Regions from separate parts of the Homo sapiens genome. Here region 2 is linked to region 1. Evidence: promoter capture Hi-C in human tissues and cell types (Jung and others, 2019). All regions are on one chromosome and are shown on one strand. Each heading gives the region's core, a stretch centred on a gene start or on the middle of the fragment in contact. The rest is flanking DNA. Distances are from core to core; before and after follow the strand shown. Region 1 holds the start of ID4 (inhibitor of DNA binding 4). Region 2 has its middle 140 kb from the start of LNC-LBCS.

The links. The method cuts DNA at HindIII sites, captures the fragments that hold promoters and counts their contacts. A contact is called where the count stands out against the background at its distance.
Region 2: a fragment that was not itself captured here is called in contact with the fragment with the promoter of ID4 in region 1 in 1 of the 25 tissues and cell types used here (aorta).

The regions. Positions count from the first base shown.
Region 1 is chr6:19,834,598-19,838,622 of GRCh38, reverse strand. ID4 (inhibitor of DNA binding 4) reads right to left here and starts at 1,253. Exons shown (of 3, transcript NM_001546.4): 1 at 428-1,253; 2 at 1-39. The coding sequence starts at 868. The HindIII fragment of the contact is 7,095 bases long and covers 1-4,025 here.
Region 2 is chr6:19,667,117-19,671,654 of GRCh38, reverse strand. No RefSeq gene overlaps it. Among named protein-coding and RNA genes, the nearest start is that of LNC-LBCS, 140 kb to the left of the region's middle. The HindIII fragment of the contact is 4,246 bases long and covers 902-4,538 here.

The sequences.
Region 1 (4,025 bases), core at 4-2,503:
GCACAGAATGCTGTCGCCCTGCTTGTTCACCGCGCCGGCCTGGAACAGCAACCGAACACCAAGGGAAAGGTTAGCAGGCGCAAACAACGCGCTCGACACGGTCCTGGATTGTCCTCGGAAATCAGGCTGGCGCGCCGACGCCCCCACCCCAGCCTGTAGCCGGGGGGGCCCCTCCGGGCTCAGGCGGGACTTGACAGCCCAGGGCGCCCACAGCCCCGAGTCCCGCCCTGCGCGTTCTCCCGGACCCGCGCTCGCCGAGCCCGGCCGGCTGCTGGCGGCCCGGGGGAGCCCGGAGGAGCAGGGGGAGGGGGCTGTCATTCCTGGCCCGCCCCTGCCCGGAGGACGGTGAGCGCCCGCGTCCCGCCACCACGCCACCAACCTCCCATCCCCCGCGGCGTCCGCCCACGGCCGGCGCCCGGCCTCTCACCGGGTCGGTGTTGAGCGCAGTGAGCGGGGTCCGCGGCGGCGCGGCTGGACAGGTCCCGGCCGGGTGGTGTGGCGGCGCGGGCGGTGGTGGCTGCCTCAGCAGGGCCGGGTGCGTCTCCAGCGCCAGCTGCAGGTCCAGGATGTAGTCGATAACGTGCTGCAGGATCTCCACTTTGCTGACTTTCTTGTTGGGCGGGATGGTGGGCACCAGCCTCCGCAGGCGGCTATAGCAGTCGTTCATATCGCACTGCAGGCACAGCGCCGGCTCGTCGGCCGCCGCCTCGGCCGCCTTACAGCGCGCTGCCGCCGCCGCCGCCGCCGCGGCTGCGGAGCCACCCAGGCTGTGGCCGTGCTCGGCCAGGCAGCGCAGCGCCAGCTCCCCGCCGCCGCAGCCCGACGGCGCCTTGCGGCCCGAGGGGCGCACCGGGCTCACCGCCTTCATCGCGCGCGCCCTGCGCTCTACGCGAGCGAACCCGCTGGGGCGAGCGAGGGAGGCAGGCAAGCTCCGGGCCCCGTCCGCGGCCGGCTCCGCTCCCTTTGCCTCCGCGCCCGGCGCGCTCGGGGCACCGCGACACTCCCGAGCCCAACAATTGACGGGAGGGTCGCTCTGGGTTTTACGAGGGAATCTTTGCTCAGTGGGCGACACTCAGCCCGAGCCCAAAGGAAAAAAAAAGCAAAAGCACCGGAAGAAAAGTAGCCCACCCGGGTGTCCTAGTCACTCCCTTCGGAGCTCCGACTAAGCCCGATCGCGGCCGCCGCGCTCCCCTAGCCCGGGATCACCCCACTCCCGGTACTACTCACAACCGCGCCTCCTCCACTACGCTCTCGCCCGGCCCGCCGCGCAGCTGTATTTATAGAGCCGTGCGCCCCGGGGGCGGGACCAGCGCGCGGGCCGGGTCGCAGCGCGAGCCGAGCGGAGCCCGCTGGGCGCGCGGGCGGGGGCGCGGAGGGAGAGGCGAGGGCGGGGGCTCCGGGCGGTGCTGGGGGGCGGGGAGTCCGGCTACCCGAGTGGAGGAGTGGGCGGGGGGTCTGGAGTGGCCAGCCAATCAGGCGGGCAGTGCCACCTCGGGGAATGACGCTCGGGCCAATGGGAAGGGCACTCCATTCCGTCAACGCTGTGGGTCGGGGTTCTGAGAAAAGAGAGCTGAGTGGGAGTCGGGCCAGGCTGATGTGTGCCCAAGGGAGGGGAAAAGAGAGAGCGAAGTTCCTGCGAAGAACTGCGGGAATGTGCGGCCGGAATTCACTCTCCACCGCCCCCCTTATCCCGACTAGGCTGCTGAGGGAGCGCCTGGGCCCTGCTCGCGGATACCCTGCCACTCCTAATAGCACGGCGCCCAGGGACCCTCCGCCACCCATCACTCCATCCGTGGGATTCCAGTGCCTTAAGAAAGACGCGCTGTTCAAGAAGGCACGTTCATTCTGTTCTATATTTCCCTCCTCCGTTTCATTATTCGCCTTTTCACATTTGCCGAAACCATAATGATGGAATGGAATGTGTAGCCTTTCCGTTTTCTTTTTAAAAAATGCTAAAGCTTAGCAAAAGTAGAAAAAAAAAGAAGGAAAAGAATGCCGAATCGAATGCAGGTTTTTGGTGAAGGGAATATAAATAAAACAAAAACGTGGGGGGGGTTCTTTTACCCCATCTAAATGCAAAAGTGGGCTCAAGAAATGCAGTTGCCTTGCGCATTCAATTAGAGCACGTAAAGATTAAAAATGCATGGACACGGAATATTTAAAATTCCATTATGACATATAATATTAATCTGTTTTATGTAAAATTCATACCTGTAACTTAATTTAGGCCATTAATGCACAGCTTCACGTATTAGTCAGCGTACCCCGCTTTAAATAAGGTGATGAGAATGTCCAGAGTCGCCTCCTTTGACAGCAAAGCATTAAAATTCACACTTCCAGTCTCTGGGATCCCGCTTGGGCCCCACCCTGCAAAAAAAAGCCTGTTAATTAAGGGCGTTTTTGTGTTAGATTTCTTAGAGAAAAGCTGTCCTTCAAGGGTTCAAAATAAAATTGCACAATGAGCTTTGGTGGAGCATTGTGTGTACCCTTCAAGAAAAAATTGAGCCCTTCAGATGAGAAAGGTGCATAAAAATTCTCAGACAATGGGGAAATGAATTTTGAGTGCCTTCACTCTACAAACCCTCCCACCTTTAGACACGCTTGGAGATGAATTAACCCAAGAATTTTCTTCATTCGTGTACATGACATGGATTGGTGTCTTCATTTTCATAGATAATTGAAAGAAAGAGACATGGACCTCATTTCTTCCTGTCTACCCCTATATGGACTTTTTCTACATCCATTCCCAGAACTGAAATACCTGCACCAGGCAGATATTTTGTTTAGCTATGTCAGTGCTTTATGACTATCGCACTATTCCCCAGAGCACATTCCTTTCTCCTGATGAAATGAGGAGCAACTATTTAATTCTGGTTTCACAGGTAGATGCAATAACCCTCCTCTCCCCTAATCCTTGTATGTTACTGCTTCTAATAATTGTTTGGAAACAAGTGCCATTCTCATTTATTTATGTGCATACGTAGATGGTCTACATACACATTAATCGAGAAAATCAGAATTATGAAACTCAGAAGGGCTTTCTTCTAAAGACAGGCATAGTCATATACATCATTAAATTAATGCAAATACAGAGAAAATGTTGTAATTTTAAATGGGAAGTCGGTGAAGCCAGCACTACTGGTTGTAAGCTATTATCTTGGAGCCAGTCATATGAGCACAGACGATAATAATAAATGGATATATGTACAGATGTTTTGTTCCATTGATCTTTCTCTTTCCTAGAGTTTAAAATTTGCTTCCAAATTCAAAACCCAAGACTTTCCTCTGTTTGGCAAAATAAAACTATGCTAATATGCCCAGGACACACTTACATTTAAACATTTTACATATCCTAACGATTAAAATTAAAATTTAAGTTTTGAATACGTAACACAAAGGAAGAATCATATCGACCTTTTTGGAATTTGCTAAATCTCAGAAAGCCATGCCTTGGGTGTGACAAGCGCCAAATGCCTAAGTTTCAGGTTTTGTTGGAGATGCTCTGTGTGACTGGCTTAAAGTTAGAAAGACTGAGTTACTCTGTGTGGGGTGGGGTGGAAGAGGTGGTTTCAAAGGAATGTACCTCAGCCACAAGATCAAGAATACCCAGGAAAGATGTGATCCGTAAATCCTGCTAGCAGAGTAGGCAGAGGCAGTTACTGTGCTCCTTGTTTTGAAGGTTGGAAGGCATGAAGACATTAAAAAATTAAAGTGCTACCATATACTATGGGAATAAGGAATACAATCCTGCACGTTTTGGTCCATGAAACCAGAGAGTACTAGGGGCTATGCAATGTATGTTTTTGTATTCTTAGACATAGACACTTACATGACATCAAAGCTGCAATCATGGAAGATTCCTGGCACTGATAATTCAAAACAGTTTACCCAATTATCACTCAGATTTTGGATAAACCTTACAAGCTATGTTATTTCTACTGTGCAGAGAAGGTAACTTAGTCTGTTGGTGACTCTTTTACATCAAAGTGTTTCACTTGCACTTGTAAAAGTAAAATGGGCTAACC
Region 2 (4,538 bases), core at 1,775-4,274, 170 kb after region 1:
CTCCCAAGTAACTGGGACCACAGTGAGTGCCATCACACCTGGCTAATTTTTGTATTTTTAGTAGAGATAGTGTTTCACCATGTTGGCCAGGCTGGTCTCGAACTTCTGACCTCAAGTGATCCATCCAGCTCGGCCTCCCAAAGTGCTGGGATTACAGGGGTGAGCCACAGTGCCTGGCCTTGGTTATAGATACAATCTTTATACTTGTAGCTGGTTTGAACTTATTTTAAATATTTGGAAGCTATTAAATAGTTCCTACTCAATGGAGTAATGAATGCCAGCACAAAAATCAAATACACATGAGGAATATTTACCCAATCAAATCAACTAATAAAGAGTAATATATCCCCTCTAGAAAGTTTAGACATTTTGATGTTAAGTGGTATCTTGTTCTGTTTCATACTAACATCTTCTTTTGAAGAATGGGATGGGGCAAAAGGGAATGTAAAAAGGCATTAAAATATTTAAATTTTAATTCCGGGGTCTAAGTTTCTTAAGTAGCATCTGTAAAGGAAGCCTTTCTGTTTTAATGTTTCCCCTGTATTATTCACGTCATTTTAAGGGCACACTACAAAATATGTTATTTCAATAGCCACATATTGAGTTTGTTCAAGAAGAATAGCTTTGAAAATCAACTTGTTTTTTCTTATTTTCTTTAAGGCTGACTTATAAAAGCAATATTCCCCTAGTTGGTTTCCCTCCTTTTCATAAGCTACCCAGGAAGAGATTTTGTGAGTCATGTTGCATTAAAAAATGGCCCTTGTTCCTTAAGTGTCATATGGACTAGAGCAGATACTGACTTTAAGTGGTCTTAGGAGCAGACTGATGGGACATTTGTACATTGAAAAGCTATCTCTGGGGATTTGTAGAAACTCTTATTCAGAAAATAGAAGTATGCACGTCCTTCAGGGTCACTGGGGAGTCTAAGCAAAATGCCATCCAACCAGTAGTGGCTGCCAAGAGTTATCCACACTTTTGCCATCCAGTAGAATATGAAACAAAGCTAGAGTAAGCAACTTCCTGTGGCCCTTCTGCTGCTCTCACAAAGTGGCTTTCTTAGATGATAGCCTTTGTCATGGGTAAACCTTACTTACTGTGGAGAGGAGACAAGTGATCTGCAAGTAGCATCAGGCTGAAATTCATCCTGGTTCCATCAAGATTTTTCAAAGTCAGAAGTTAAAATGCGGATGGACCTACTTGAAACTTTCTTAGCTGAAATATGGAGGATAAAATGTGGATGACACAAGCAGGCAAGATCTGGGAGGATTCTCATGCATCTCAACATCAATGGAACCACATTTGAAAACCGTATGAAAACCCAAGTACTAGACTGAGTTACTCACAAACAATGGGGCAAGTAAAGTTTTACAGGGGTTAGGGAGAGTGGTGAGTTATAGGAATGTAGGTAGTGTAGGGAGAAGAGAAATAGACTCAGAAGAGCATCTATTAACCCTGCTAACATAAACTTTGCTGATAATGAGCTTAAAGATACTCGAGATGATGTCTTCCCTGCCATGATTCAGTCTGGCTTCTCTAGGCAGTGCACATACATTGGTGTAGGTGACAAGGAGTGTTACACGAGAATACACAGCCACTTTGTAGTGCTGGCCAGCCAGATGAAAATGAGCTCTTGGTAATGCAGTATTGCTGTTGGGAATATCCCTGTTTCTGTCCTTGTGTGTGTATCTACATATAGTTAGATATCAACATAGACACATACACACAAATACACACACACTCACAAAAGACTTGGTGGCAGTACACGGAGATTTTCATGATGCTTAAGAAAAGTGGGCAGAACACACATACAATTTCCTTTTCCTGGGGTGCATATATGTCAGTGGCAGGGTGCCTGAGGTGCTAGGCCTGCTCTGCCCCTGTGGGTGAACTTGGGTGGTCTGTCTGAGGTGAAGGGCTTAGGTTGTGGGCTGGTGACCTATCTCAGCCTGTGCAGCTGACTAACAAGCAATTGTCTTCTAATCAAGTATTGAACTGCATCCAGGTATGTGGAAGGCTAGTCTACTTCCCCTCCAGGATTCAAGGCTCAAACAAGTTTCTCTTTGCTTTCTATGATGCATAAAAAGATTAAAAAAGAAATTCTGAAAGCTTGCTGGCACCTTCATCTGGAAGGAAGTACAGTAGGTCCTTAGAAAGATACTCACCTCTCTGTGCCCTCTGTGAGGGGTGTGAGCCCTGAGTCTGCAGGGGAGCAATGTGGTAAACAAAGGAGGAATTTTGGCAGTGAGAGTGCCAGTGACTGGAGGGAGTATATATGTCTTGCTCCCTCTGCCAGAAATTCCAGAACTTCCTTCCTCTAGTTCTGTGGCTGCAAAAATGAAAGCCAGAATAATGGGGCAGGAGGTGGATGTGGGGCTAAGGGATGGGACACTATTCATCTCCTTGCTTTGAGTATTAGCAGAAGAAAGTTGGGCACAACAACTGGGACTCCCTGGATGCTGGTTTTCATTAGAGCTACAGAAGATGTTTTACTTTGCGTCCTCTTTTAACTTGCAATCTGGCATATTCTAGCTCTGGATGTGTAAAATAACCTGGGGTAAATCAGTCTTAAGCAAAAATCTCCAAATGAATGACTTGTATTAGGGGCTTGCTGTTCTCTTTTATTTATTTTAATTTTTCAAATGCTTGTTACTCTGTCTGGTGCCACCCCAGTTTTTAGGATGACTAATGATTTCATGCAGCCAGGGATCCCTCCTCAGAGAGGTTGAAAACATCAGATTAAAAACAACCACAGCTATTTATAGGATGTGAAGATAGCTGAGTTTCTTGATAAAATCCAGAAGCATTTGCATTTTAAAAATGGAGACCTCATTGCTGAGAAATCCAGAGGAACAGACCTTTAAAAACAGATTGTTGGGTATTTTTATGTCTGGGCAAGGGAGATATTTTGGGGCAAGGAAAGCTTCTTAAATTATACCATTCTGGAATGCTGCCTTTATCTACTTGTAAGGTTAGTCCTAGTCATGGATAGGATGTATCCAGATGAATGGCATTGTTCGCTAGCAAAATGAGGCCATCAAAAGTGCCTGTGATTTTCCCACGGTCAGATGAAAGTTACTCTTAATCATTTAATTTTGCTTCTCATTTTATCAGCAGCCTCTAGAATGCTTTCCAGGGTTATTAAAATGATGATTAATTAAAACACAGGTAAGAGTTAATGAAATTTGAAAGGTGCTTGGGCATCATTGAGGCAGATGGTTCTAGGTACGGAGATTCTGAATGTAAGTCATCATCATTCCATCATCATCTTGATCACCACCATCACCATTGATAATAAACGTTAGCATTTAAATGGTACCTCTTTCCAGAGATTTCAGCATCTGACAGAAAATTTCCTTGTTCTCACAACATCCTGTTAATGACAGAAGGTGGTTGTGGTTTAAAAAATCGTGATGATTATCACCCACTAGGTCCTGGCTGTCTAGTCATGCTGGTGCGTGTTCTCTCTCCTTGACTTTGCTGTCCTTCTAGAGCTGTGTAGCAACAGTTCAGTGAATGGGCAGAACCTTGTCACCCTGACTCTGTGAAGAGCAGAGCTCTCTGTCCTCGTCAGTTGCCATTCACACTCATCTTGGGGGAACATTACACCTAATTCGTCTCAACTCATGCTGTTCATCTGTTGCCTCATTCCTTTTTCTCAGCAATTTGTCTTTTTCCCTTTCTTTCTCCCATCTTTCCTAGCATTCTACTGCCTCCCCTATCTCCATTCTCTATTCTCTTTCTATTTTCATTGGCCAGTTCATGTCTGTATTGTGCCTTAGTTTTCCCTGTCTTGGAAGCTTATACAAGATAAACTAGAGATGTAGAGATACGTGTGGGGAAACAGGTCTCTTTGACTTTCTTTTCTTTTCTTTTCTTTTTTTTTGAGACGGAGTCTCACTCTGTTGCCCAGGCTGCAGTGCAGTGGCGCGATCTTGGGCTCACTGCAACCTCTGCCTCCTGGGTTCAAGGAATTCTCCTGCCTCAGCCTCCTGAGTAGCTGGGATCACTGCCACGTTCCACCATACCGGCTAATTTTTGTATTTTTAGTAGAGACAGGGTTTCGCCATATTGGTCAGGCTGGTCTTGAACTCCTGACCTCGTGATCCGCCTGCCTTGGCCTCCCAGAGTGCTGGGATTACAGGCGTGAGCCACCATGCCCGGCCTGTTTGACTTTCAAGACTGGGGAATTAAGTATTTTGCTCTGTTTCTAGTGTACATGCTTTTATGTGTTGATACTTCTCAGCCTTTGGTGACTCTTAGCATGTTTTTAGTAACTTGGTTAGGTCACAGTGACTGATTTCTATTTTAGTTCAGCTCTCTTGTTCTCTGTCTATTAAAGTTCCATAGAAATTGGAGTGGGAGAGGAAATTTTGAGGGCTTCAAAGCAGAGTTTTGGCAGCATGTACATTCAAGGGAGGAGTAAGAAGGATTGTGGACTCTGCATGGTCAAGTGTGCATCCAAGCCATTGGAATAACAGACAACAGCTCACATGCATTGAGCACATGCTATCTGCTAAGCATGGTTGTAAGCACTTAAT